7 separate regions of the Homo sapiens genome follow, and regions 2, 3, 4, 5, 6 and 7 are each linked to region 1. The links are contacts of gene promoters, found by promoter capture Hi-C in blood cells and fetal thymus (Javierre and others, 2016). All regions are on one chromosome and are shown on one strand. The core of a region is centred on a gene start or on the middle of the fragment in contact, and the rest is flanking DNA. Distances in the headings are between cores, read along the strand shown. Region 1 holds the start of CMC1 (C-X9-C motif containing 1). Region 2 has its middle 31 kb from the start of EOMES. Region 3 has its middle 20 kb from the start of LINC01980. Region 4 overlaps LINC01980 (long intergenic non-protein coding RNA 1980). Region 5 has its middle 46 kb from the start of LINC01981. Region 6 has its middle 88 kb from the start of LINC01981. Region 7 has its middle 87 kb from the start of LINC01967.

Evidence for each region. Contacts are between HindIII fragments. The CHiCAGO score rates a contact against its expected background, and 5 or more counts as called.
Region 2: a contact is called between a fragment that was not itself captured here and the fragment with the promoter of CMC1 in region 1, in 7 of 17 cell types (total CD8 T cells, total CD4 T cells, naive CD8 T cells and 4 more). The highest score is 9.4, in total CD8 T cells.
Region 3: a contact is called between a fragment that was not itself captured here and the fragment with the promoter of CMC1 in region 1, in 3 of 17 cell types (naive CD8 T cells, total CD4 T cells and total CD8 T cells). The highest score is 6.2, in naive CD8 T cells.
Region 4: a contact is called between a fragment that was not itself captured here and the fragment with the promoter of CMC1 in region 1, in 1 of 17 cell types (naive CD8 T cells). The highest score is 6.4, in naive CD8 T cells.
Region 5: a fragment that was not itself captured here is called in contact with the fragment with the promoter of CMC1 in region 1 in 7 of 17 cell types (total CD8 T cells, non-activated CD4 T cells, total CD4 T cells and 4 more); the score reaches 9.0 in total CD8 T cells.
Region 6: a fragment that was not itself captured here is called in contact with the fragment with the promoter of CMC1 in region 1 in 2 of 17 cell types (M2 macrophages and total CD8 T cells); the score reaches 7.9 in M2 macrophages.
Region 7: a fragment that was not itself captured here is called in contact with the fragment with the promoter of CMC1 in region 1 in 3 of 17 cell types (M2 macrophages, naive CD4 T cells and total CD8 T cells); the score reaches 6.6 in M2 macrophages.

Annotation. Positions count from the first base shown.
Region 1 is chr3:28,239,419-28,243,462 of GRCh38, reverse strand. CMC1 (C-X9-C motif containing 1) reads right to left here and starts at 1,844. Exons shown (of 4, transcript NM_182523.2): 1 at 1,651-1,844. The coding sequence starts at 1,669. RefSeq lists a silencer at 1,552-1,631. The HindIII fragment of the contact is 9,835 bases long and covers 1-4,044 here.
Region 2 is chr3:27,751,010-27,755,053 of GRCh38, reverse strand. No RefSeq gene overlaps it. Among named protein-coding and RNA genes, the nearest start is that of EOMES, 31 kb to the right of the region's middle. The HindIII fragment of the contact is 6,751 bases long and covers 1-4,044 here.
Region 3 is chr3:27,775,187-27,779,230 of GRCh38, reverse strand. No RefSeq gene overlaps it. Among named protein-coding and RNA genes, the nearest start is that of LINC01980, 20 kb to the left of the region's middle. The HindIII fragment of the contact is 9,075 bases long and covers 1-4,044 here.
Region 4 is chr3:27,799,692-27,803,735 of GRCh38, reverse strand. LINC01980 (long intergenic non-protein coding RNA 1980) reads right to left here. Exons shown (of 5, transcript NR_146630.1): 2 at 886-972. Among named protein-coding and RNA genes, the nearest start is that of LINC01980, 4.1 kb to the right of the region's middle. The HindIII fragment of the contact is 2,147 bases long and covers 1,022-3,168 here.
Region 5 is chr3:27,877,875-27,881,918 of GRCh38, reverse strand. No RefSeq gene overlaps it. Among named protein-coding and RNA genes, the nearest start is that of LINC01981, 46 kb to the right of the region's middle. The HindIII fragment of the contact is 1,595 bases long and covers 1,070-2,664 here.
Region 6 is chr3:27,920,575-27,924,618 of GRCh38, reverse strand. No RefSeq gene overlaps it. Among named protein-coding and RNA genes, the nearest start is that of LINC01981, 88 kb to the right of the region's middle. The HindIII fragment of the contact is 3,236 bases long and covers 186-3,421 here.
Region 7 is chr3:27,939,208-27,943,251 of GRCh38, reverse strand. No RefSeq gene overlaps it. Among named protein-coding and RNA genes, the nearest start is that of LINC01967, 87 kb to the left of the region's middle. RefSeq lists an enhancer at 2,744-3,336. The HindIII fragment of the contact is 1,863 bases long and covers 863-2,725 here.

The sequences.
Region 1 (4,044 bases), core at 595-3,094:
TCAAAAAGTGTAGATATATGGAAATCTTTAACCTCTCTCATTCTCAGTCTCCTCATCCGTATGAGATTACTTTAAAGGTCACTTCAAGTTCAGAAGTACCATAATTAGGCTGGGTGCGGTGGCTCACACCTGTAATCCCAGCACTTTGGGAGGCCAAGTCAGGCAGATCACTTGAGGTCAGGAGTTCCAGACCAGCATGGCGAACACGGCGAAACCTCATCTCTACTAAAAATACAAAAATTAGCCGGCCGTGGTGGCGGGCGCCCGTAATCCCAGCTACTCAGGAGGCTGCGGTGGGAGAATTGCTTGAACCCAGTAGGCGGAGGCTACAGTGAGCCGAGATAGCGCCACTGCACTCCAGCCTGGGCGACAGTGAGACTCCGTTTCAGTAAAATAAAAAAAAAAGATACCATAAATTATATGGGCCTAAACTTGAACCTTCCTTACTCACCCCTCACTTATACTCTACCCCTTCTACCCTCAAGAACCAAATCATGGTAGTCATCCTGAAACCAAGCATCGCACAGTGCACCTTACTATCTAAACCTTTGCTCATAGGGCTGCCTCTTCTCCAGCTCCAACCACTGGAAATTCCATCCCTCAAAGCCCAGATCAACTGCTAACTGCTTCATAACCACCTAGTCCAAAATGAATATGATCATTATGTTCCAGAACTCCTCTATGCTTCAAATTAGAGTACTCCCTGATCTACCACTACCTGCTGGACTAGTCACTTAACTTCTCTTCGCCTCAGTTTCCTAATCTGTAAAATGGAGCTAAAAGGACCTACCATACCACATATTATTGTTGGATAATAGAGAACACTTAGCATGGTAATAACATGTTCAATTAAAACATTATTTCTGTGCTACATATATTTTCCATGCTCCTTGAAGGCTCCGAAAGAGCATTTTCCATTTCTGAATCTCCCAAGTTTGACGCCATTTACCTCTCAATGTTTTGACTTTTTGTATCCATAAAATGAAAGAAATGGACTAGACCAACTACCATTCCCTCCAAAAATGTTATCTATTCCCTTGCAAAAATAGCCTAACGCAAAGATACTGCAGGTGACCTTCCACAAGGACGGGAATTCGAGGGTAAGTTAACTATTGCTGCAAACGGAAGTGGCTGGAAGCAAAGAGATTAAAACAACATTCAAGATTTTGAAGATCCTTTCCAAAGAAACTGACTCCTGCCATAGTGATGGATCCTTTGAAATATGTTTTTAAGTTGGGTTACAAGGATGAACTCGGGGTCCATGAACTCCCAAACAGAAATGTAAAACTGTGCGCCAGAACAAATATACAAATTTTTCTGGGGCCAGAGTGTCTGCAGCATACATTAAATGCATCTGTGACCTTAAGGGGCGAAAAGAGGGTGACAATGAAGAGACTAGTCGCGTTAAGTTGGAAACCACAATGGATGATACTTTAGACAACAAACGCAACCTCAGATAACCATAATCCCCAACAAGTGAGAAGATGACCTCAGACCGGGCGAAGCAGCCGCCGGGTATGAGGAGACGCTGGTGGAAGCAATGCTACCCAGAGCTCTGCACCTTTCCCAGGTCGGCATCCAGCCCGCATGGCCCGCGGCGTGAGACCCGGGGCGAGGCCCCTCGGCAAACCCCGCTTCCCGCCCCGGTACCTGCGGGGTCGAGCGCCATCTCGGCGGGCCGAGAAGAACGTAGCCGCTTGGCGGCTCCGGGGCACGCAGGAAGGGGAGTGGAGGGGAGGGGCTTGGGCTCGGACGCACGTGCGACCCCCGGGAGCTTCCCGCAACAGAAACACGGGCCCTTTGCAAAGCACCGCCAGGACCCGTTCCCTCTTCCTTCCCAGGCTCCTACTTCCGCCGCCCGTTGCGCCTGCGCCTTTCTGGCCCCGCCCCAATCCTGTAACTAGAGTGGAACTGACTTCGCAGGGGGAATGACCAGGAAAGGGGGCGTGTCTGCGTGCCTTTGGGGCGGGACCGTGCAGGACGCGCGCAGCCTCGCTTCAGGAGGCTTGTGCACCAGTTGCAGACCCGGGTCGGCCGTGACTGGAGGCGGACCTGCAGGACTTTGGGACTGTGCCTCACTCGGTGACTGGGCCAAAGTCCGAGCCCCGTCCCCCATACCCGCCTTCGGAGAACCAAATGAATCATCCAGTTCCTTTTTTTTTCTTCGTTAACGTTCATTCATTCATAAATGTCTATTTCATGCCTGCCAAGTTCCAGCCACGGTTCTGAATACGAGGGGAAAATAACAATAAAAATAACGTCCCTGTTCTCAAGGAGCAGTGTGGCAGAGGAGACAAATAAAAGCAACACGCTGTTAAATGTGATAAACGCCACACGCACTAGTTGTTCACAGCTTGTTCTACCATAAAGGTGATATGGTGTGTGCAATATCGTTATTTCTCCTTCAAATCAAAGACTGTGGCTCTCCTAGACGTTAAAATATGGGCTCTAGAAGTACCTCTATGTTGTGAAATAATATCCTCAGGACGTACAGTATGATTTGGGTGATGTTACAAATCCTGCCTCTATCAGTAAAAGCTGTATGTTTTGTGAGAGTAAAATGAAGGAAGGTAATAGCCGTCCCGCTGAAGACCCACTACTCACCTCTTCTCAATAGAAGAAACTTTCTAGGTGGCACTTAGGTTCATTTCCACTCACAAACCAGCCTTCAGAAGTGCTTCCTTGTCAAATTCACGTTTAACTGGCTCGAGCCACGAAAGGGTGAGCTGAGGCCTGGGACAGATGGGACAGATGTTTAGAAAAACAAGGAGCAGCTGCTTCTTCCCTGCAAGGGATTCAGGGCTTTCAAAATGATCCCCTCCCCACCTACCTGCAGTCCCTCCTCCCCTGCTGCTGCTTCCGCCTGGTCAGTTGGCAGAAAAGCTGAGGCAGTTGAGCAGGGCTGGGAAAGTGGGTCTCTGCTCAGCAGGTCTTCCGTTTAAGGGCCTATTTGGGCATAACGGCCCTTATTACAGCTGTAGGTTGAGGTGCCAAGGTGAAGAATTAACGTTTCACTCACCCAGCCAGGGAATCAGGTCCTTTTCCTTGTATATTTTGTAAATATGCTTAGAAATACACCAAAATGACTCTGGTATGCCTCTTTTATTGTTCTGAAGGTGAAGGATTTGATTTAGAAAGCTAAAGCAATCTTTTTGAGGAGATGGAGTATGAAAACACAGGTCAGACACCCATATTCAAGAATTAAACTAAATCTTTCTATATGCAAAAGGGTATTATGGTAAAGGAGGAAAGTTTGATCTGTTATCTTAGTGAGTTGAGTAAGTTCTATTATTTTTCTGGACTTTGGTTTCCAATTTACAAGGTTGTTCTGAGGAATAAATGTGATATCATACAATGCATTTGAAAGACTTTAAAGGACCACTTCTACCATTTCTGCCATAGCTATTACTTGAAACATTACTATTTAACATTTGTTTTTAAATCAACACATTTTTAAAAACACTTAAATAGGCACTATTTACTTTAGCCTTATCCTAAGCAACAGTATCTGTAATATCATGGGTTTTGTGTGCCCCATAGAATGAACTGCTAGACGTATCACACCAGGAGAAGCACTAGCAAAAACGGTAGCCCAATACCTGATACATAATAGTATATCTCTCTCTACTCCCATGTTAAACCAGATACTTTGGGGGGAAACTGAGTCTTTACAATCTATACCTAGGGAAGATAAGTCATTTTTTAAGTTAAGCGAATGTAATTGGCAATTAAAAACAGAAGAAATTTCCTGAGGCATCGCATTATTAATAGGCAATTCTTTGGGTAGTAACTGCAAAAGGAGCTCAAGGAAAGAGGAGAGGACATCATCCTGGAAATTAGGAACAGTGTCTTACCCAGCTGTGATCCCTAGAGCTCAGGCAACGTCTGGTAACTGGTGACCCCACAAAAGCCTTTCTCAAAGGATTGAATGCCGCAATGGTTAGGAAAGACTTCAGAGATAAGTTAGAAGTTATGCTCGGCCTTGAACGATGGGTACAATGAGTAGACAGAAAAAAGGGCATCTCATGCTGGGAGAAAAATGAG
Region 2 (4,044 bases), core at 813-3,312, 490 kb after region 1:
GACACGTGCCTAGATCTTCTTAAAGACCCTTTATATTGACTAGAGGTAAAGGAGGAAGCAATATTTACCCGTTCTCTTTAGGAAATATATTTCACTAACCCTATATATCCATGATATGTAAGGGGTTCAAGAACTTATAATCAGATCTTCGCCACCTGCTTTGAATATTGTTTTCATGCCATAACTGAAACTGAAGAAGAAAAAGTTCCATTTAATGCCCTTAAACCTCATACAAAAGAGAGACTGGAAGGAGAAATTCCAGGTTTGGTTAATTCAGCAGTTCAACAATGTCAGTGCTCTTACTGTTTCTCTGTGATCCTCCAGTTTTCTCTTCTCATGGTCATAAGAAAGCCACTGCAGGGTCAAGCATCATGTCCACATTTGAAAACAGCTAAAGACAAGAAGGGAAAAGTACCTGTCTTGTGTCCGTCTTTATAGCCAGGAAAAACTTCTCAGAAATTCTCAATAAGCCTTTTCTTAACATCTTGAAAGGCAGAGCTGCTTCACATGCCCCGACCTATAGCAATCTCTAACAAGAGGAATGGAATGACTGCAATTGGCTTAAACTAGTTGCCTCCCTTAAGAAAGTGTGGCACATATACACCATGGAATACTAAGTAGCCATAAAAAGAGGATGAGTTCACGTCCTTTGCAGGGACATGGATGAAGCTGGAAACCATCATTCTCAGCAAATTATCACAAAATCAGAAAACCAAACACCACATGTTCTCACTCATAAATGGGAGTTGAACAATAAGAACACATGGACACAGGGAAAGGAACATCACACAAGGGGGCCTGTAGGGGGTGGGGGGCTAGGGGAGGGATAACATTAGGAGAAATATCTAATGTAGGTGATGGGTTGATGGGTGCAGCAAATCACCATGGCACGTGTATACATATGTAACAAAACTGCACATTCTGCACATGTAACCCAGAACTTAAAGTACAATCAATCAATCAATCAATCAATCAATCCAGTTGCCTCCCAAGAAGTATGAGACCCTGGGTCCAGGACTTTTATGTAAAATATGATACACTGGAGTACAAGAGGAAAATATTAATGCCACCTCAATATTTCTTATCCCTGACTTTTTAAACTTTAATATTTGGGTTCTTATTTTATTTTATTTTAAGATGGAATCTTTCTCTGTCGCCCAGACTGGAGTGCAGTGCTGCGATCTCGGCACACTGCAACCTCTGCCTCCCAGGTTCATATCTTGAAATAACTATTCTTGATTTTCCTAGTCTGACCCACCCTACCCTCCCCAACCACCCCACCCCCCACTCACCACCATGTCCTCAGCCTCTCAATGTCATAATTTTGGTTACTCCCATATTTGTTTTTTGGTTTTTGGTTTTTGGTTTTTTTTTGAGGCAGAGTATCGCTCTGTTGTCCAGGCTGGAGTGCAATGGCACACTCTCAGCTCACTGCAACCTCCGCCTCCTGGGCTCAAGCCATTCTCCTGCCCTCAGCCTCTCGAGTAGCTGGGATTATAGGTGTGCGCCACCATGCCCAGCTAGCTTTTGTATTTTTAGTAGAGATAAGGTTTCACCATGTTGGCCAGGCTGGTCTCGAACTCCTAACCTCAAGTGATCTGCCTGCCTCGGCCTCCCAAAGTGCTGGGATTACAGGCGTGAGCCACCGCACCCTGCCTGGTTACCTCAGTATTTGAAGTTCACTGCTGGGCCATGCAGTACATTGTGACAAATTTTTCTTTTCTGCCTAAGTTTTTGTTTTCCTCCAATTCAACCCCTATCTCTCTTCCAGGTGTCTAAATTTCCTCATAAGACATTCAGATACAGCAAGTATTGTATTACTTCTATTTTCTCACAGGAATCTCCCCTGGAGTTTTCTGACCCAGTTCACAATAAACTGGTTGCCATCTTGCCTCATGTAGCATTTCCTCTGCTTTCTTCATCACCATCTTGGGTTTCACTTTGCCTCTTTTCTGTGTTGGATCCTCTGTTTTCTGAAACCTATGACATGCATTTTTTTCTGTTTACTTTTTTGTTTTGCTAACCCACATCCTCCAGTGGCTTTCTGAGAAAAAAGTACATGGGGCATATGTTTCTCGAGAGCATACATATTTGAAAAATCTTTAATTGACATTCCTACTTAAGTCATAATTTCACTGGGTATGGAATCCTAGAGTGGAAATAAATTTCCTTCACAATGTTGAAAGCATTGCTCTAATCCTGCCTAGCTTCCAGTAGTGTTATTGAGAAGTCTAAAGAAATTCTGATTTCAGATCCTATGTTTGTGATTTGTATTTGTTTCTGGAAGCATTCAGGATCTTATCTTTGACTCCTGTGTTCTGAAAGTGCCCAAAGATGTGCTTTCATATGGGTCTATTTTATACGTTGTACTGGGCTCTCAACGGGTCCTTTTGGCCTAGGAAACCATGTCCTACAATTCTGGAAACTTCTCTTGAATTATTCCATTGGTGGTCTCTCTTCAGTTTCTCTACTTTCTCTTCCTAAAATTCAAATGATATTCAAATGGACCACCTGGACTGGTCCTCCAATTTTGTATCTTATCTTCTTTTTTCTATATGTTCGTTTTTGTCCAAATTTTGAGAAAGTGTCTCAGCTTTACATTCCAAGCCTTCTTTTTTTTTTTTTTTTTTTTTAGACGGAGTCTCGCTCTGTCGCCCAGGCCGGACTGTGGACTGCAGTGGCGCAATCTCAGCTCACTGCAAGCTCCGCTTCCCGGGTTCACGCCATTCTCCTGCCTCAGCCTCCCGAGTAGCTGGGACTACAGGCGCCCGCCACCGCGCCCGGCTAATTTTTTGTATTTTTAGTAGAGACGGGGTTTCACCTTGTTAGCCAGGATGGTCTCGATCTCCTGACCTTGTGATCCACCCGCCTCGGCCTCCCAAAGTGCTGGGATTACAGGCGTGAGCCACCGCACCCGGCCTCCAAGCCTTCTTTGCTTCCTTGCCACTAGTGTTTTTAAATTCTAAGAATTCAAACTCCTTTTCTGCATATTACAATACTCCAATTTTATAGCATCATCCTGTTGTTTCACGGATTTATGATATCTTTCAGAGGATATAGATGATAGTTGAGTTGTGGCTATGTTGTTGTTGCTGTTCTGTTTTTTTCCTTCTATGTTTCCTTCAAGTTGCTTTTGTCTTCTTGAAAGTTTTAGTCTCCATGTTTTATGGTACATGTGAATGGTGATTTTTGGTTATCTTATATTCAGAAGTTAGGGACCAAACAATAGTTGATTGTAAGGCTCAAGTCAGCTGGCAGGGTGTATGTATTACAAGGATCACTGTAGAGTTACAGGCCTGGAATGTTTTATAGGGAGAACCCCTGACATCAAAACTTTTAGCATTTCTATCCTAATATTTGATGTAGTCTGATTCCTCAGAGAAGGGGTGACAAATCTCCTGCCTCATGGACATGGGCCTGACTGCAAGTCTCTGGAATAAGATAGAAGAAAAAGACCGGCATTCTCAAAATTCAGAATATAAGCATTCACTTCTTCCTCCTTCTATCTGGCATCCCCAGTCCAGAGAATGTGTCTGATGAGGGAACCATCCCTCTTCTGGCTGGGTTGGAGAGGAACTGTCACCTAGTGCAAGGAGTAGAGGGGGCATCAGAGACTCTCACCTATTTATTGATATGTTTTGGCTGTGTCCCCACCCAAATCTCATCTTGAATTCCCGCATGTTTGGGGAGGGACCCACTGGGAGGTAATTAAATCGTGGGGGCAAGTCTTTCCCATGCTATTCTCCAATAGTGAATAAGTCTCATAAGATTTGATGGTTTTAAGATTTGATGGTTTTAAAAAGAGGAGTCCCCTGCAAAATATTTCTTTGCCTGCTGCCATCCACGTTAAGACATGACTTGCTCTTCCTTGCCTTCATGCCATGATTATGAGGCCTCCCCAGCCACGTGAACTGTAAGTCCAATTGAACCTCTTTCTTTTGTAAATTGCCTAGTCACGTGTATGTCTTTATCAGCAGCATGAAAATGGACTAATGCATTTACAACCTTACTTTCAACCAATTTTCCCACTTTTAGGCCCTGTTT
Region 3 (4,044 bases), core at 1,103-3,602, 460 kb after region 1:
AATGCTCAGGGAATTTTTATTTATTTCTTTCAGCGTTTTACAAAATACCCTTATTAAATTGCACTGTCAATAGTGTGAAAAACTTTCCCCCTTTTTCTTTTCCTCTTCTTCCTCCTCAACACACACACACTACTCTGTAAATACAATGTGAACATTTAAAAATGCCAACACTAGTAATATTTATAATGATTTAATGCATCAGCCCAGGTAGTACATTTGTGAGGATTCTTATTTACCAAGAGACTGGTATTAGCCTATGCATTGCCACCAATTCTCATTCTGGGCAATTTATTCCCTTAAATTTATCTGGGTGTCATTATCTGTTTGAACTCAGGATTTTTGATTAGATGATTCCCGATGACTTTCTCAACACCAAAATTCCATGACAATATGTTCTTTTATTCATAAACTTGCCATAATTGCAGTAGTGTGCTGGTAAAGCATCTCTCTGTGGAGAAAAGCTCTGATTTGCAGCATTTGCCAGTTTTGGTTGTGTAAATACTCTCACCATGGCAAATTTCAAACTGCCAAAAGTTTAACTACCAGCTTTCAAGTTTTCTGGATATTTAGTAATCAATTCTCAAGGGGTGATACAACCTGGCACCAGCCCACTTCTTAAGCAGCTAATAATAATGACTGGGATTAAATTCATTTTAGAGGAATATATACATGTAAATCATATATATTTCTATTCAACTAACATGTTCCAAGATTGAAAATATTGTACACATTCTAGAGAATCCCTTTCTTTCCATTCTTACTGCCACCACCTTAGTCACCTAAAATCCAGATTATTAAAAGAGACACCATCACTGTCTAGATTAGTTTGGATTTCCCCCCAGAAGCACAGCCTAAGAAAAGGATTTGAATTCGGGTAGTTTGTTTGAGAGGAGACAGAATCATTCACATGGGAGAAGGGAAGCAAGCATCTGTATTACTCATGCCTTCTATTTCTGAATTGTGATGCTCTGACATCTGGGGCCTGGCTGACTCTGGAAGTTCTGCCACGCGCAGGGTTAGCCAGTTCCTGGAGATGGTTAACAACTTGCCTATGAATGCAGTTTTCAAATACAAACCCACCAATCCACAGCCCACACCCTAAACACCTCCTTTATTAGGCTGTCACATTCCCAGCCATAATCCATCTGGTCTAATCATTCCAGAGCCAGATACCAGACAACTATGGGGTAGCCCCTATATCTCAGAGCCCTTTGAAATTGTTCAAATAAGCCAGTCCTGTTTACCCTGCCTCACCCATTCTTTTCCTCAGAAACCTACAGTTCCTCCCTCCTTCTGCTTCCTGACCACCCCCAATACTTCACCCTCCTTCCCCTGCTGGGATGGCATGCCCCCTCCTCCTGGAACTGTGAGTAATAAACTATCTTTACAATAGGAATCATCTCGTGATCTGTTGTCCTTATTATACTTATATTTTTTAGTAATTCATCATGTTTTAAAAGAAAGTCAAAAGTAAAAGCAGTCACTAAAGGGTATATTTTCAAGCCAACTACCAATGTGAGCTACTGGAATTTAATTTCACTTAGAGCCAGAACAGAACATACACCTCAAAGTTATTCCTTTGAGGGGCAAGGGAATTTGGGGTATTTACACATAAAATCCTATCAGTCACTGGTAAGGGGATGACAAGAGAGAAACATTAATATTCTGTCTATTCTGGTGGCAGAGCTGGTTCCAATGACAAGATAGAGCCCTCAGGCAAAGAAAATCAGGTGCTGGCAGTTGATAGACTGGGGTGCCCTAAAGTGGTACAGGGGTGATATTAGTGCTGCACCAATAATGCGACTGCACTATCACTGACCAGTTCTTTCTGGACCCTGGAACCCTGACATCCCTTTTGAGCCAGTAACCACCAGTGATGTCACCTGAAATTGACTGCAACTTTAAGGACTACTGATTCCAAACTATGTCTCACCTTCATTTAATTACAAAAATACATGACGACCAGGTTCTCCTAATCTCGAACCCTTCTCCAGTAATTTGGCCAATGGCCAAGTTCCTTGCAGCCCTCTGGAACCATCACCTACAGCCAACACACTGACTTAGCAGCTTCACAGACTGCTTTTTTTTTCTACTTCCACAGCAATACTGAAATTTCCTACACTTTCAACTTAGCTCCTTAAATTGGACCCACATGAAAAATGTGTAGGAACCTGCCAGTCACTTGCAGCCCATAGAGAAGCTCAGGAATCGCCTCAGGCCCTCCCCACTCTATGGCTTCTGTAACCACCTTACTTACTGACACTTGTGTGTCCCAATGTCATTTGGATCCCTACTTCAGTGCCTCTCTCTGTTTTCTGGTTGAGCAATTTGATTTCCAAATGTTTACCACCCTCTGAACAGGCAGCCTCTTAGAATAATGCTGCTTCCAGAAATTGCCTGTCAGTCTATCACACTGCCTCAAGGCTCCCACGTTAAATATTTGCTAGATGAATGAATACATCCAAAGTAATGAAGAGCAGGAGATGTTATGTTTATCCTGACTTCCCATTGCCACTTCCCAACCTGTGTAGCAACCCTTCCTCCTCTATACCATCACCTTCACCCTTTCTCCATATCGACTCATTTCTCCACAAAACCTGCAAGACTTGGCAGCCTTCCTTCCTCCCCCAAGTTTTGGCAGGGGACAAGACAGATTATGTGGTAGATGATCAGCTAAGAAGGCTACCAACAATTGACACACAGCTTCTCCATCAAGTGGAGGAGTCCAGTTCCCCTCATCTTGAATCTGAGTTTGGCTCTGCGATTTGCTTTGACTAGCAAAATACAGATGATGTTCTCTGAGTTTTAGAGCCTAGGCCTCAACAGGCCAGGCAGCTTCCATTTTTCCTCTCTTGGGACACAGCCACCACATAATGAAACTTGGGCTCAATTCCTAACTGACGGAATATCACGTAGAGAGAAAGAGTGATGCAAGCAGCCTTCAGCCACTCCAACCGTGGAGACAAGGCTCTAGACATGTGAGTGAAGTCATCGTGGATGTTCCCAGGCTGGTTTTCAGCCACATGAGGGATTCAGCTGCACCATGTGAAGCCAAAGAACTGCTCAGCGGATCCCAGTCAACCCGCAGAACTGTGAGAAATAATAAAACTGTTATTTTCTTAAGCCTTAAGTTTTGAGGTTCTTTACTGTGCAGCAATAAATAACAATTTATTTAGTTCCCTTATTTCTCTCCCTACTATGCCCTTTATTTATTTATTTGCTTATTTATTTGTTTGTTTGTTTGTTTGTTTGTTTTGTAGAGTCAGAGTCTGGCTCTGTCACCCAGGCTAGAGTACAGCAGCACGATCATGGCTCACTGCACCCTCAACTTCCCGTGCTCAAGCAATACTCCCACCTCAGCTTCCTGAGTAGTAAAGACTACAAGTACATGCCACCAGGCCCAGCTAATTTTTTAAGTTTTTTGTAGAGATGAGGGTCTCACTATGTTGCCCAGGCTGGTCTCAAACTTCTGGGCTCAGGCAATCCTCCCGCCTCAGCCTCGCAAAGCACCGGAACCACAGGTGTGAGCTACCATACCTGGTGCATTTATTTTACTAATAGGAAAAAAGTCTAAGCACTGAAAAAGGAATAACTTACAATAACATAACTCTGTTAATAGAATCTGGTGACCAAATCACTGGTTGAATGTATATTGGCTTCATAACAAAGAACTACTTTTTAAAAACTTAATCAGTACTAGCCAGTTGCAATAGCCCCAAACCAAAGACTTCCTAAAGGCCCACAAAAAGTAGAACTGTATAATAAATTGTCATATATTTGAATAACAGGATACCATACAGCAATGAAGACTATGTACAACAGTATGGGTGAATCTTATAAATATGCTGTTGACTGAAGGAAGCCAGACAGGACAGAGTACATGCTGCATTATTTAACTTTTCTGAGGACAAAACTGGCAACTCTTGGTGATGTTGATAAAAGCCAGAATCACACTTACCCCTCAGGAGGAGGTAGGGACAGGAATGAAGCCTGAGGTTGGCATTGGGGGTAAAGGTAATATCTACTTCTTGATTTAGGCATTGG
Region 4 (4,044 bases), core at 846-3,345, 440 kb after region 1:
CGCGGGAAGCTGAGGCAAGAGAATCGCTTGAACCCAGGAGGCGGAAGTTGCAGTAAGCTGCAATTGTACCACTGCACTCCAGCCTGGGCAACAGAGCGAGACTCCGTCTCCAAAAAAAAAGAGTGTTGAACTAGAGCAGAAGTTGCAAACTGGTGACCCTCAGACCATATCTGACAGACATGTTTTGTTTGGCCCACAAAGCAGTTTTTTAAAAATTCAGAGCCAGGCATGGTGGCTCATGCCTGTAATCTCAATACGTTGGGAGGCCAAAGCAGGATTGCTTGAGCCCAGGAGTTTGAGACCAGCCTGGAGAACATAGGAAGACTCTGTCTCTACAAAAATAAATAAATAAATAAATAAATAAATAAATAAATAAATTGTTCAGGTGTGGTGACCCTACTCAGGAGGCTGAGGCAAGAGGGTGACTTGGGTCCAGGAGGTAGAGGCTGCAGTGAGCAGTGATTGCACCACTGCATTCCAGCCTGAGCAACAGAGCAAGATCTCATCTCCAAAAAAATAAAAAATAAAATAAGTGAAAAAAAATGAATGATTTGTTAACATTAAAAATTTATGAAATTTCTTTTTAAAAAATTCAGATTTATGAAATCTTTTGGAAAGATCTGGCACCCTGGGTTCACATTGCCTCCTGACAACAGTCTGATGGAGCTAAAGGCAGCTTCTCCTGCAGTTGAGGTATGTGCTCTCCAGCTCACACAGTCCCCTCCTGACTCACTTCACTTTTTTGCATTGGCCACCTCAGGCCTGGCATTTGATTCTGAAACACTAGACTAGACAAATTCTAGAATCTCTAATTGTTCTAGCTTTTGGAGATAGAGAACCAAATTGCTGGGGGCATAACTGATGATGGGACCAGAAGTGACTTACAGCAGGAGATTGTCTATTGTCCTCTGTGGGTCCAGCGGCCTCCAGCCAGTTTCCTTCCCTCTTCTCCACTAACACAGGCTGAGCAGACTGAGAACATAGAGGTTTACAAATTAGGGAAACTAGAAGAAACCAAGCTTTGGCCTCTAACTGTTGCAAGCATATTTAGTAAAATAGCTGAGACTTCATTGCTTTCAGAAAATACTAAGGAGGAAGCGATAGCTTCCCCTCTAGAAGCATCTCAGAAAGATCCCTTGGGAATAGAGCCATGTGAGGTGTGAGAAAGTGGAGGAGAATATGACTTTGCTGGGGAGTGGTGGGCTTTCTTTTTGCCCTGCCTAACTCCATGGGCAGAGTTAACTCTGTGGGCTTTCTTAGGCCACAGAGCTCCATATCCTCAAAACAATATCTCACAGGAAAAAGAAAATGTGGAGCTAGGATTTGCAGACTATGAGTTAGCATCAATGGCTGCACAAATATCACCTAAAAGCCACCTCTGGTAAACAGTCTTGGCAGGGCAGCTCAGTCTTCTTAGAAAATTGGCCTCATATGTTGTAAACAGATGGATTCAGACAGAGACACTCAGGAACATATCTCCAGTCCTGGTACTTAACCCTAACACCAACTGTCTCTACCTCAGCTTTCTGACAGATCCAATGGATTCCTCAAAGAATGGCACCCAAATTGCTCTACTAGGTATCCACACAAATGGCAAAGCAAAAGAACAGGCAGACCTGTGGCTAAAGCAAAGGGAGAGAAAAAAAACAACATTTAAAGAAGAGAAGGCATTTATGAGTAATATGCTGTGGTAGTTAAATCCTTATCTTCTTTGAATTCTTTTAGAAATAATATAAATATAAAAAGACAAGTAATTTTCTCACCTAATTTGCTTGTGGAGCTGATAATTAAGTGTTGTTGATTGCATCACCAGAATGAATTTGTGATACTTGCTGTAGTGTCTCTGCATATTTAAAGACGAAAATGTTCTTTCTGGTGCTTAGTAAAAATATCATTTTTATGAACCCTTTCCCTCAGGCAGTTCTGTAGCCTCCATTCCCTGTTTATGGAGCTGCAAGACTCCCTGTCTGAGATATGACAAAATCAACTTTACACCTAAATGTGCCTGTCAGCCCAACGGCTCCTTAACTCTGAGAAAAAGGCCCAGATTCAGAGGCCTACAGAAATTCCAGACATTTTCAGAGAGATCTTTTCCCCCAATGATCTGCATGTGTCTTGATTATTCTAACCCCCACCCCCCTTACAGTTGAAAAAAATGGTAGGGAGGAAAAAATGTTTAATGGTTAAAAACTCCAGCTCCGGAGGCATGCCAAGTGCGACTTGCATGAACTTGAAAAAATTACTAAATTCTTTGACCCTCAGTTTCCTCACCTTCAAATGGGAACAATACTAGTAACTCATAGAGATTTGGGAAGGATGAAATGAGTGAATGCATGGGAAGCATTAAACACAGGTCTGGAGCACAGTAAGAGCTCCATACACTGTAGATATCAACATAGCCACCATCATCATCTTCACTATTCTAGAGGTATTCAAAGTAGTTGCATATCAGAAAAACCTGAGGAAATTCTTAAAAATACATATTCAGAGATCCCACACCCAAAACCATATTAGAACTGAGTATGATCTTGATTATTTCTTCTGAGATCCTTGGGTGAATAAATGCTCAGCTAGGCCTGGGAACCATTGATCCAGGCCTGCCTCCGCAAAACCTTAGGGGCTGAGCACAGAGAGTCATGGCTTTAGAGGCATTCAAGGTAAAAGACAGAGCAAGCACCCCACTGCTCCTTGAAGAACCATGGAATTTAGTCCTCAGGAAAGACTATCACCATAATTATCACTGGGTATAAGTAAGCCCTCTTCTCTCAGCTTTCTTACCTACTGGTGCCAAGGACACTCATTGCTAACATAGAGAGGTATTCCAAAGAGATTGAACTTGCTCATTCTTTGAGCAAGCATCATAGTAGAGACAGCAGCATAAATACGGATGAAGTATCTTTTTTTAATAGGATTGGTGGAAGACACTCAATTCCAACTTTTTAAACAAATTTGCCTGATTAAGTTTAGCTCCCATATGGTTAGTTACTATTCTTTGCATAAATATGCTCAGTTGAAATGGTCAGCAAGATACATTACTCCCATGAGATATGGTATTCTCCTGCTAGTTGAGACAGAGGTAGGAAAAGAAGCAAAAAAGTTCTTCATTCCAGTTGGCTGTGTCAGACGAATAATTGTTTGGGCTATGGATCAGCAGTTTTTACTCAAGCTTTCTTATGTCTGCTGCAACTCAGGCGATGGCTTCATGAGAAACCAGTGGGGGTGACTGGGGTGACCAGATCTTCACAAATTCTCAGAACTAAAGACAGCAAGCAAAGCCTTGCACTTCCCCATAACATCACAGCCATGAGTGATTCATCTCTGGTAACCCACTGCAGGCTGGAGTAGGGAAAAAATATATCATGCACACATCTCATTTCCATTTCCACCGTCTCTTCCATTCAAGAAATATCTTTGTTGGTATCTACCAACAACATTCTAAGAGGGATAAACATACATTTGGTCTAGTTCATAAAAATTGAATTTTCAGTGGGGCTTGGTGGCGTGGCTCATGCCTGTAATCCTGGCGTTTTGGGAGGCCGAGGCAGTGGATCACCTGACGTCGGGAGCTCAAGACCAGCCTGACCAACATGGAGAAACCCCATCTCTACTAAAAATACAAAATCAGCTGGGTGTGGTGATGCATGCCTGTAATCCCAGCTACTTGGGAGGCTGAGGCAGGAGAATTGCTTGAACCCAGGAGGCAGAGCTTGCAGTGGGCCAAGATCATGCCACTGCACTCCAGCCTGGGCAACAAAAGTGAAACTCTGTCTCAAAAAAAAAAAAAATTAAAAAATAATAAAAATTAAATTTTCAGAGTTCTTTTTTTTTTCCCAAATGTTATCACTTTATTGGGACTTATAGCACAGCTACCAACTAATACTAGGTTTGAAAGGTATTGCTGTAGAACAGTGGTTCTCAGCTTGGGGTGATTTTGACCTCCTCACTGGCAATGACTGGAGACATTTTTTTTGCTGAAATAACTGGGGCAGGGTACTGCATAAGGGCATCTGGTAGTTAGAGGCCAGAAAGGCTGTTAAACATCCT
Region 5 (4,044 bases), core at 618-3,117, 360 kb after region 1:
ATATCATACAGTAGTGTGTGCTAGAACTCCCTGCACCAGCTTGAGGGAGATGACAAAATTTTCTCCAACCAGGTAGGATCAGCTCCTCCTTTGACAAGGTAGAGACGCTGAAGCCCTTGTCCTGGGTCACAATCATTTTCTGTGGCAAGTTCACAGCTTCACCAGCTTCTAGAACACAGGCATACCCTGAATGCTTAAAAACATTAAAAAAAATACCCCTTCCTGTTCTTCTCTAAGTTACAAAAATAGAAGGAAGTGGGGTGCGGGGAGGCAGAAAGAGAGGTGTCAAGCAGACATTCCCTGGGTCTGAAAGAAGCAGCAGACTCCACAGTGTCTCACACCTTCTCTGGGTTTGTGCAGAGAACTGATGCTGCTTACTTACCCTGTTGCTTGCATGTAGGTCTAGGGAGGTTAATATCTTCTCTTCCCTCCTCGGTTTTACTTGCAATAGTTGTTAAGGTGAGAATTTAGTTATTGGGTGTTTTTCACCTTATGTTTTGATCGCGAGGGATTTAAAGTTACTTTCACTTTTGCAAACACTGTAGCCCTGATGGAGAAAACTGCAAACCCTCATCAAGGGCCCCCTAGTAAAGGAGACATTGGGAGAAGATATTCCCATGGTGCTCATAGTTCTTAGAGCTGTCAAAGGCCAAGAAGCTCCTGAAGTGGCAGGCTCTGACTACTGGCTTTCCAATTTACCTTGTTTTACTTCTTCCTCACCAGAGTGCAGTAAGGGAGGTAGTATGTCCCCCATTTTATAGAGGAGGAGACTGAGACTGGGCTGGGTAGCAAGAAAGCAGAGGCAGGAAAAAAGAGACGGAGTCATCTGGCATTTACAAGGCACTAAAATCACTGGAAATGAAATACAATGAAGACAATGCTATTTCCCAAAACCACTTTCAGAAAAGACTTACATGTGGGTTGCTTTACCAAGCCGCTTAGGGGAAGAAAAAGAAGGGGCAGAACTAATCCTCCAAAGAGGCTTGAGATAGATAGAGCTCAAGCTGCCTTCTAAGAAGGGATGGGAAATTTGGGCACAGAGCTTTTCTTGTGCTGGGTTGAGTAAGCTTAGGGGAGGAAAGGTGTGATATTTTCCTCAGCAGTCATAGGATCCAAGCCTACACACCTATAAAAAGGACAGGTAAACAAGAGAAAAGCATAACACAGTTATTTAATCAAAGTTTTATGTGACACGGGTGCCTTTAGAAATGAAGATCGGGAGATCCAGGGAAAACTGTCTATTTTTTTTAGGTTCAATGAAGAATAGACAGCCATGTAGAAATGTGATTGGACAAAAGAGTATGATCTAATGATAATAGGTGGCAAACCCAGCAAGGCCTTTCCAGAATCTTCTTGTCTTCTCTGTGTAACATTCCTTCCTCCTGGATATGGGACAGGGCCCTCGGAATGAGGTCTTCAAGTAAGAAGGGAGAAGGGGAAAAGTGACCTTTTTAGTTTTTATGGCTTGCTTTGGGTGAGAGGAGGACTAGTTTCTATGACCCACCTTGCAAAAGTGAAATTCTGGTTTCTGTGATTTGCTTTTGAAGAGAAAGAGGGGCAGGAAACCAGAGGATGGGAGAAGGTCAGGCAGACCTTGTTTCTGAGGCCCTCCATGTGTCCTTCAGTTCAGAGTACTCAGCACACCAAGGTGCCATATTTGGGGTATTGTGTTCTAAGCCCCAACATAAGTTTGGGATTAAAGGCAAATTGGTCTGGACAGTTGAGCAAGAATAGTACTTTTTCCCTATCCAGCTTCCACACTGCTGCCCAGCCTCTCCTCTAAATGGCATACATTGACAAGGAGAAGAATGGGACAATATCTCTTTCCTCATTGATGGAATTCTCTTTTTGAGGAAATCTCTCCTTTCATGATAGTGATAAAATTTTGGAAGTTGGAATGCAGAAGAGCACATAACTGACTGACTAAATAGACCAAAGAAAGCTGATCACCAGACATCTGAGGAAACACACAACATGAAAGTCAGAAGTCTAAGAAAAGACTGGGTGTGGTGGCTCACACTTGTAATCCCAACACTTTGGAAGGCCAAGACGGGAGGATTGCTTGATGCCAAAATTTCAAGAGTAGCCTGGGCAACATAGCAAGACCGCATCTCTACAAAAAACAAAAGTTAGTCAGGCATGGTGGCATATGCCTAGCTACTCAGAAGGCTGAGGCAGGAGGAACACCTCAGCCCAGGATTTGGAGGCTACCATGAGCTATTATCATGCCTGGGTGGTAGAGTGAGATATTATATGCATGAAATAAAAACAGGATTCTATTTTTAAAAAACCAAACATGCAGACAACGAGACTGAGTTTTAGAAAATGAAAACCTGAAAGCAGAAATGAACATCTCAATTGATGTGCTAGAAGATAATTTACAAAAATTTCTTGGAAAGTAAAGCAAAAAGACCAAGACATGGAAAATGAGAGCAAAAAAAATTTGCAAATTAGAGCTTAGAGAGTGTCCAGAAGACTAACCATCTAAGTAGAAGAAATTCTAGAAAAGAAAACAGATACAATAATCAATATTACAGCTTAAGAAAATTTCTCAGAATTAAAAGTCTTATTGAGGTTCACCACAAAAATTAAAAATAAATCCTCACTGAGGCCCACCAGTGTAGTGCTTCAGAACACTAGGATCAAAGACAAAATCCCAAAGCTTTCAGAAAAGAAAAAAAAAAAATGCTTACATTAAAAGGACCAAGATTCAGAATGGCTGTAGATTTCTCAATAAAACAGTAGAAACTAACAGAAAAATGGGGAAATTCTGAGGGAAAATAGTTTCCAATTTAGAATTCTATGCCAAGACAAGGAGTAAAATGTCAGCGTGGATTAAAGACACTTTTAGATATGTAAGAGCTTAACATTTTAATCTCCTATATCCTTTCTCAGGAAACAATTATAGGACACACCATCGAAATGAGAGATTAGGGCTGGGCGCGGTGGCTCATGCCTGTAATCCCAACATTTTGGGAGGCCAAGGCGTGTGTATCATTTGAGGTCAGGGGTTCGAGACCAGCCTGGCCAACATGGTGAAACCCTTTCTCTACTAAAAATGCAAAATTTAGCCAGGCGGTAGTGGCGCGCACCTATAGTCCCAGCTACTTGGGAGGCTGAGGCAGAAGAAACGCTTGAACCCAGGAGGCAGGGGTTGCAGTAAGCCGAGATCGCACCACTGCACTCCAGCATGGGCAACAGAGAGACACTCTGTCTCAAAAAATAAAAAAAAATTAAAAAATTAAGAGATTAAACCAAGAGAAGAATAAATACGGGAAAGACAACTCATAAGAGAAGGAAAGAGAAAATCTGAGCAATCAGCTAAGGCAGGCCAGAATTGAAGAGCCTTGGCTCAGATTTAGGGCTCCTTTCATTTTATTTCTATTTTATCAAGTTATGCACATAATTGTATATTATAGTTCAACAAGATTTATTATGAAAGTTAGCCCCTTGGGGGCCATATTCTTTTTCCCACTCCTTCCTACTCCTCAGAATCAACCACTTAGCTGCTTTCGCTGTCTCCTTTGTCATTGCTTTCAAATAGTTAAATAATATAGTCCAACTTGAATTTTCCTTTTAGCCATTTCCTATTAATTCCCTAATGTGGGAGTTAAAGTTTCCCTATCATCGTCACCACCTGCCACAACCACACACCCTATGCTTTTAAGATGGGTCTGCTTATCCAAAAAGTTGGCTTTTGCCTTGATTTCCACATGGTATTAAAGCTTTCACTTTTGCTTCCTGTCATTCAAGATTGTTTTTTGCATGATGCATGTGTGTGACCTGATGATTGAGTCTGTGGGCTTGAAGTAAAGCAAAGACAGGGAGGCATTAAAAATGAAATTTTCTATAATCAAGACAAGCACACAAATGTGTGAATAAGATTTTCAACAGAAACATAACAGAGACCAGGCAGAATATGGGGCAAAATAGAGAAAGTGATAATAAGTAGATTTATCAGGGCAGCACAAGCGAGAAATAAAAGCAAGTTCAAGATCAAAGAAAACACTCAGCCTTCTTACTTTAGAATCAAATTGGCAATTA
Region 6 (4,044 bases), core at 554-3,053, 320 kb after region 1:
ATGATCAAATAAGAAATATTTTCCCAGGACCTACTCCATGGCAAGCATTGTGTGATGAATAAGACACGGGCCTTATTTTCAAGACACTTACTTTCTTATCACTCAACTAGGTCTCATCCTTTCCATTTCCTCTTCTTCTGCTTTATTTTAGATTGTATAATTTTTCAGCTGTATTATTATAAGCTTTTCACCTGCTTCAAATCTCTTGCCCTTCAGTTTTATGTGCCTCCAACTCATCCTCCACACTTTCTAAAACATTAATCTAATCATATCATCCTTTTACTTAAAAAGGTGCAGTGCTGCAATTATCTTCAGGCAAAATGCCAACCATGGCACTCAGCCCTTGAAAACATTATTTCCTCTAGTTCTGAAAACAATTATATCAGATAGCTATTATAATCTCAGTTTTACAAACAAAGAAACTAAGGCTCGGAAATCTTAAACTGTCATAACCAAGTCCATGGGGCTGGGAGAACCAGGACTCAAAATCAGCTTTCTTGTCACTAGATCCATTGCTTTTAATATTAATATTCTAGTCTCTTTAACCAGTTTCACCTCTTACTCTTCTGGAGAAAAACTGCTACTGTTACTACCATTGCTACACTAAGTAACAACATCATTTTAGATTACACGTCCTTATTTGTCAACAATATAAAGAGGCAAGGAGGAAGAAGACACTTACCTAGCTGGCTGAATCAGTCAGTCAAATGAGCCTGGCAGTCCATGGGTGACAAATTTTGAGCCAAATCACCCTTGCATGCAATGTATGATATACAAAGACTTAAAGATAACATACTAAGTGACCTGTTCCAGTTCATACACTACATTATTGTGTAAGTAGAACAGAAATCCCAGTCTCTGAATCCTCTGTCCATAAACCATACCAAAACACACAGATCCTCTAATCCAAATGAACAGAAACCTTTTAATAAGTTAGCCCAGTATAGCAAGCAACTTAACATTTTTGAAAGTTTTAAAATATGGCAACTAATCACATATCTAGGAAGTATGTGGTACAGTTAAATGGCAATTCACAGGCAAACCTCAAAAATACCAAAGTTGCTTATGACTGTAAACCTCACTCAAGTTTTTTTCCCAAGTGGTTTCAATATTCAGTTGGAAGAGTGACAGTTGGACTTAATGGTTTTATTTTCTCACTTTTCTTCAGAAACCAATCCATCTCACTACTGCAGTGCTTTCCAACCTTTTTAAACCCATGACCCCTTTGGATAAACTGAAAATCTCATGACACCATTCCCTTCACCGCCACCCAGAGCTTTGTGTATGCAGAAAATAAATTATATTTCTGACATACCATGTCAGATACGAAAAATTTTTGCATTTTATTTTGAAGTTGTTGTAAGAAAAGGGGTGTTTGATTTTCCAAATATAAAAATATTTTTTAATATTTTTTCTCAAATTATACAGCATGTTCTCATACTCCATCTTGGCCCTCCCAGCTAATAATCAATTGCATGATTCCACTTGTTAATTTGTGATTTATGCAATACTGAATTTCAGTTTAAGGCTCTAAATGAGTCCACTATTATCCAACTATTTAGAAAAGTTGTCATTCCTAAAAGAGTTCCCAGTTAAAAAGGAAATCAAGGAATAGAAATGAAATTATCAAACTCACAGAATATTTAAGTGCCCAGAGTGCTAAGAGGTGATTTGGCCTCATGCTTTCTACTCCAGATAGGTGGAACCTGAATCTCTGGGCCTGTTGTCTATGGATCTGGATTATAAAAAAGCATCCAAGTTGGTTCTAATAACCACCTGGATTGGGGAGCCCATTATTTCACAGGAGAGAAAACTAAAATGGAAAGAGATTAAGTACAGCTAACCCAATTTGCTGACTTAATTTAAGCAACTTTTAAAAAAAATAGTGTTCAGAATTTTATTTTATCTACCAACTCTAATTTGATTAAAAAATATATATTTTTACAATCATTTTATCTTCCTCCTTTTAGAAAAGTTGCCCAGATAGATAAAAATAACAAATTGGATACATTCCTTAATCTCCTCTCAGACTTATCACTCCAATAAAATAGCAATAAAGGAGTAAAAACAATATAACCCAGCAAGAAAAGGAGAGGCGTGATTACATTTTTAGAAAATGTAAAGCAGAGGCGGGGCGTGGTGGCTCATGCCTGTAATCCCAGCACTTTGGGAGGCCAAGGCGGATAGATCACCTGAGGTTGGGAGTTCGAGACCAGCCTGACCAACATGGAGAAACCCTGTCTCTACTAAAAATACAAAAAAACCCAGCTGGGTGTGGTGGCACATGACTGTAATCCCACCTACTAGGGAGGCTTAGGCAGGAGAATCGCTTGAACCTGGGAGGTGGAGGTTGCCGTGAGCCGAGATCGTGCCATTGCACTCCAGCCTGGGCAACAAGAGTGAAACTCCTTCTCAAAAAAAAAAAAAAAAAAAAAAAAAAGCAGAGAGTTGAGTAATGACTGACATGATAGGGGAATGAGCTTCAATCTAAAATACATACCGAGGAGATACCAATGAGATGTGGACTTATTTGCCCTAGAGAACTCAGGAGCAACTACCATGACACATGTCACAAGGGAAAACTTAAAGTAAAAAGGCATATGAATGACTTGACATTCTAGATATGCACTCATGCCGAGCACAGTGGTTCAATCCTGTAATCCCAGCACTTTGGGAGCCTGAGGTGGGTGGATCACAAGGTGAGGAGTTTGAAACCAGCCTGGCCAACATGGTGAAACCTCATCTCTACTAAAAATACAAAAAAAAAAAAAAAATTAGCTGGGCATGTTGGGATGCGCCTGTAATCTCAGCTACTTAGGAGGCTGAGGCAGGAGAATTGCTTGAACCCGGGAGGTGGAGGTTGCAGTGAGCCGAGATCACGCCACTGCACTCCAGCCTGGGTGACAGAGTGAAACTCTGTCTCAAAAAAAAAAAAAAAAAAAACAAAAAAAAAACGATGTGCATTTATATACCACCTTCCCCCACCCCCATGCAGAGCTGCCAGCAGCCAAATGCCTCCACTCCCCATCACTGCAAATCATTAATTCTCCAGTGTAAGTGAAAGGGCAAGATTGTACTCAGAAGCACCAACCACAGCAGAAGGTAGGACTGAGGTACAAGATTGCAAAGAGAATGACGGAATAGTCAAATGAAAAAATGCATGCTGAATGGATTCAAACCTTTACATAGCTAGGTGTCTACCTCCAGGGAGGAAGATGAAGGATTCATTTTCAGAGATAGTTAATGACCACTATAGACTGAAATTGTATGTATGTTTGTTAGGGAAAGGAGTATCCAGCAATCAAACAGCCAGTTCTCTAGAAAAGCACCAAAAATGAAGACAGCCTCAAGCCTGAGGTCTTCTGTGTTAGTTTGCTAGGGCTGCTATAGCAATGTTCCACAGATTGAGTGGCTTAAAGCTTAAGCCTTAAACAACAGAAACGTATTTTCTCATAGTTTTAGAGGCTGGAAGTCTAAGGTCAAGGTGTCAGGATAGTTGATTTCTTCTGAGTCCTCTCTCCTTGGCTTATAGATGGCTGTCTTCTCCCTGTGTCTTCACATGGTCTTTCCTCTGCATGGGTGTCCTAATCTTTTCTTCTTATAAGGACACCTGTCATATAGGATTAGAGCCATCCTAATGATTTCTATTTCACTCAACTACCTCTTTAAAACCATATCTCCAAATACTGTCACATTGTGAGGTACTGGGGATTAGGAATTCAACATGTGAATTTGGAGGGAATATAATTCAGCCTGTAACAGCTTCTTGAAGATTTTTAGTGATTTCTTGGAATCATGGCAATTAAAGATCACTAGACACATAAAGAAAGCTCTTCCAACACAAATGTACTCACTCACTCACAGAAATCCAAAAGAAAAAATAATTTAGGTAACAGGGAAAAACTTCAAAGATACCAATAAGTAACTTTAGAAAAATATGAGAAAATCCTAAATTGATGAAACCAGAGCTGAATATTAGAAGAGAAATTAAAAGCAAAAAAAAATTAAAAATGGAACTTATTATAACAAAATAAAGGAAGAAAA
Region 7 (4,044 bases), core at 545-3,044, 300 kb after region 1:
GTCTCCTGACAACCACAAAGGTGGGGATGAGACCCTGGAATGTTACTTTAGACCTCACATCTCCACAGCTGTACCTAAAACCAAAAATGAAGAGCCAACAGCAGCATCTGGCACACTTCTGCCTCTAAATCCTCACAGGAATGCATTAATGGGTGAATCTATTTTGAATCTACCACCCTACCTGCAAAGGAGCCTGGGAAATATCCATTTTTACCTTTCTACCTCTGATGTATTGGAAGGCACATGAAAAGGAGATGGCATAAGATCCTAAGTGCTACTTGACCATGACACACACACACACACACACACACACACACACACACGAGTATGTTCAGAGAGATTTAAATTTTTAAACACGTTGGCCAGTTTTTCTTATTTGTCATTTTTCCCATTGCTTCAAAACTTATAATGTCATCTTATTCCAGGGAGGTTTAATAAGTATTACATCCTGGTTTCTTATTATCTTCTTATTGGTACTATCATTTGATAATAAGACAGACACAAAAACACAAACATAAAAATGTTTGCTGGGAAATTATTGGGGAATGATTATTGTATTTTTTCTCAAAATTATATTCAGCACTATTGTTTTTAGAACCAGAAAATCCCCACAGTGATCAGAAACAATGTGCAGGCTAATACAAATTCTACTTTGGCATTTTTGGCCATTGTAAATGGCCATGGGCAAATCATGTCACAGGACTCTGATGTGCCATTTTTAAATGCATAGGTGAGAAGTTATCCTCAACTCTGGTCTATTCTCAAAAGACAGCTGATGACGCAGAATGCCACAGGATCAGGAAGAGCAAGGCAACTCAGGTGTCATAGGCACCAAGTGACATTCCCTATTTCATTTGAAGCTTAATGCAGAAATGATTTTTATTTTCTTATAACTATTTACCTTGAGGCTTTCTAAACTCTTTGATTTTTTAAAAGTCAGATCCATTAAACCTAGTCAAAAGCAGTCATTTTATTTGGTAGTTAGAAGAAAACTCCCACACGCAGAGATTTGCTTTCATCACACCATATTGGCATCCTCTCCCTCCTCCTTGCGGTAAGCCAAGGGGACTGAATGCCAGTCTATGGAAGATGGTTTTCAAGAAGCAGTGTCTGTCTTTCCACACAAGTCCTGGGGCCGTAGATGGAATTGTGGTCCTTGCAGCTCCCTCAGTAGTACAATTTGTTGCTTTAGTCAATTGAGGGCTCGCTCCAGCTGTTACAACCTTGAAGAAAGCAACCTTCTCCAATGTGCCTTTCAAAGGACTTCATGTCTAAAACACCAAAAGCAATGGCAACAAAAGACAAAATTGACAAATGGGATCTAATTAAACTAAAGAGCTTCTGCACAGCAAAAGAAACTACCATCAGAGTGAACAGGCAACCCACAAAATGGGAGAAAATTTTCACAACCTACTCATCTGACAAAAGGGCTAATATCCAGAATCTACAATGAACTCAAACAAATTTACAAGAAAAAAACAAACAACCCCATCAAAAAGTGGGTGAAGGACATGAACAGACACTTCTCAAAAGAAGACATTTATGCAGCCAAAAAACACATGAAAAAATGCTCACCATCACTGGCCATCAGAGAAATGCAAATCAAAACCACAATGAGATACCATCTCACACCAGTTAGAATGGCAATCGTTAAAAAGTCAGGAAACAACAGGTGCTGGAGAGGATGTGGAGAAATAGGAACACTTTTACACTGTTGGTGGGACTGTAAATTAGTTCAACCATTGTGGAAGTCAGTGTGGCGATTCCTCAGGGATCTAGAACTAGAAATACCATTTGACCCAGCCATCCCATTACTGGGTATATACCCAAAGGACTATAAATCATGCTGCTATAAAGACACATGCACACGCATGTTTATTGCAGCACTATTCACAATAGCAAAGACTTCGAACCAACCCAAATGTCCAACAATGATAGCCTGGATTAAGAAAATGTGGCACATATATACCATGGAATACTATGCAGCCATAAAAAATGATGAGTTCATGTCCTTTGTAGGGACATGGATGAAATTGGAAATCATCATTCTCAGTAAACTATTGCAAGGACAAAAACCCAAACACCGCATGTTCTCACTCATAGGTGGGAATTGAACAATGAGAACACATGGACACAGGAAGGGGAACATCACACTCTGGGGACTATTGTGGGGTGGGGGGAGGGGGAAGGGATAGCATTAGGAGATATACCTAGTGCTAAATGATGAGTTGATGGGTGCAGCACAGCAGCATGGCACATGTATACATATGTAACTAACCTGCACATTGCGCACATGTACCCTAATACTTAAAGTATAATAATAATTAAATAAATAAATAAATAAATAAATAAATAAAAACACAATATAAAAAAAAAAAAGACTTTGGTGAGCCACTTCCCCCACCTTGATTGTGGGCAATTATGTGTGGTCTGCTGAAGGAGGAAGTTCATTGATACTGTATTCTAAATCAGTAGTTCTCAATCTTTACATCAAAATAAACTTTAGAGATTTAAAAAAAAATTATATAGATACTCCCAGAGATTCAGATTCAATTGCCGGGCATGGGCCTAAGTATCAGTATTTTTAAGCAATCCAGGTGATTCTATTCTGCAGCCACAATTGACAACCACTGCCTAAAATTTTAACCAGCTATAGTGACCAATTTGTCCTTGTTTGTCCAGGTTTCCTCATTTTAAAACTGTAAGTCTCATGCCCAAGGAAGCTTTCAGTCCCAGGTAAACCAGAACAATTGGTAACCCCAGGCCTAGAAGTCTGTGCTCTCAACCTCCTAAAGAAGACCTGAGTCATATAAATCATATAAATGCACAGGCTCTGTAATTATGAAGAGGAAGTAGCACTAGGCTCACAGTCCAAAAACCCAAGTTTAAGCCTTTCTTTTTGCCATTCCTAACTATGCGACTTTGGGGAGAGTCACTTAACTCCTTACAGATTGAGTGTCCTCAGTTCCCTGCTTCTTCACTGCCATGTCATTATGGGGATCAAATAACAGCTCACATACCAGAAGAGGAGACTGAAGTTCAAGGAGGATAAATGACAATGCTGGGGTCATTGAGTCCGTAAGACATGTGACCTGACTTCCAGGCCTGATTGTCTTCCACTGCAGCTGTCATGTAAGAATGCAAAGAGGGATTCTCATGGCTACGACTGACCTATGAATCACCATCGCAGGCTGAGAGCAAAGCAGCGGGCCATTCACATTCCACACACTAGCTTCAGTGTGTATATTTATGAACTTTTCTCTTTGATGTTTATTTTGAAGTAGGATTGTCTGTATTCAATGTGTTTGGAGGAGATAGCTTAATTTGCCCCAACTTCCAGCTCCTGGGGGTGGGTGTAGACTGTGCCTGAGCAGGTGCTTGAAGGGAAAATTTCAGCTACCTCTCCCATCATTGTGTTACAACTGCCTACAGTATTCAGTACAGTAATATGCTATACAGGTTTGTAGCCTAGGAGCAATAGGCTACACCATTCAGCCTATGTGTGTAGCAGGCTATACCATGCAGGTGTGTATTAGTACACTCTGTGATGTTCAGATGATGAAATCATCTAATGATGCATTTCTCAGAACATCTACCCATCATTAAGCAATGCATGACTGTAGTTGCCTAGTGAGAATCACAAAATCTTTCTCTAATTAGAATTTGTACTTAAAGGATATTACTGTGTACCTTTAAAATAGCACACAAGCCACATAAAATGTAATATTCAACAAAACATATTTGCTAATCCAGTTCAAATAGAAAAATAATTTTTAATATTAAATTAAATGCTATTTAATATTTAAATTATCATTAATATCATTTTGAATATTTTTATGGGCAAGATACTTTATATAATTACATTTCATCATCATTATTGTCTTCTAAGGCATTATTACCTCATTTTTAAGAAGAGAAAATAGGCTCTGTGAGTTTAACTGACTTGTTTGGTGTCACTTAGCTAGATTGCTGGTAGGGGAGGGACTTGTAATTTGCCTGACTACCATTTTCTCTTATTCTACACATTCTACCTAATGTCTAAAT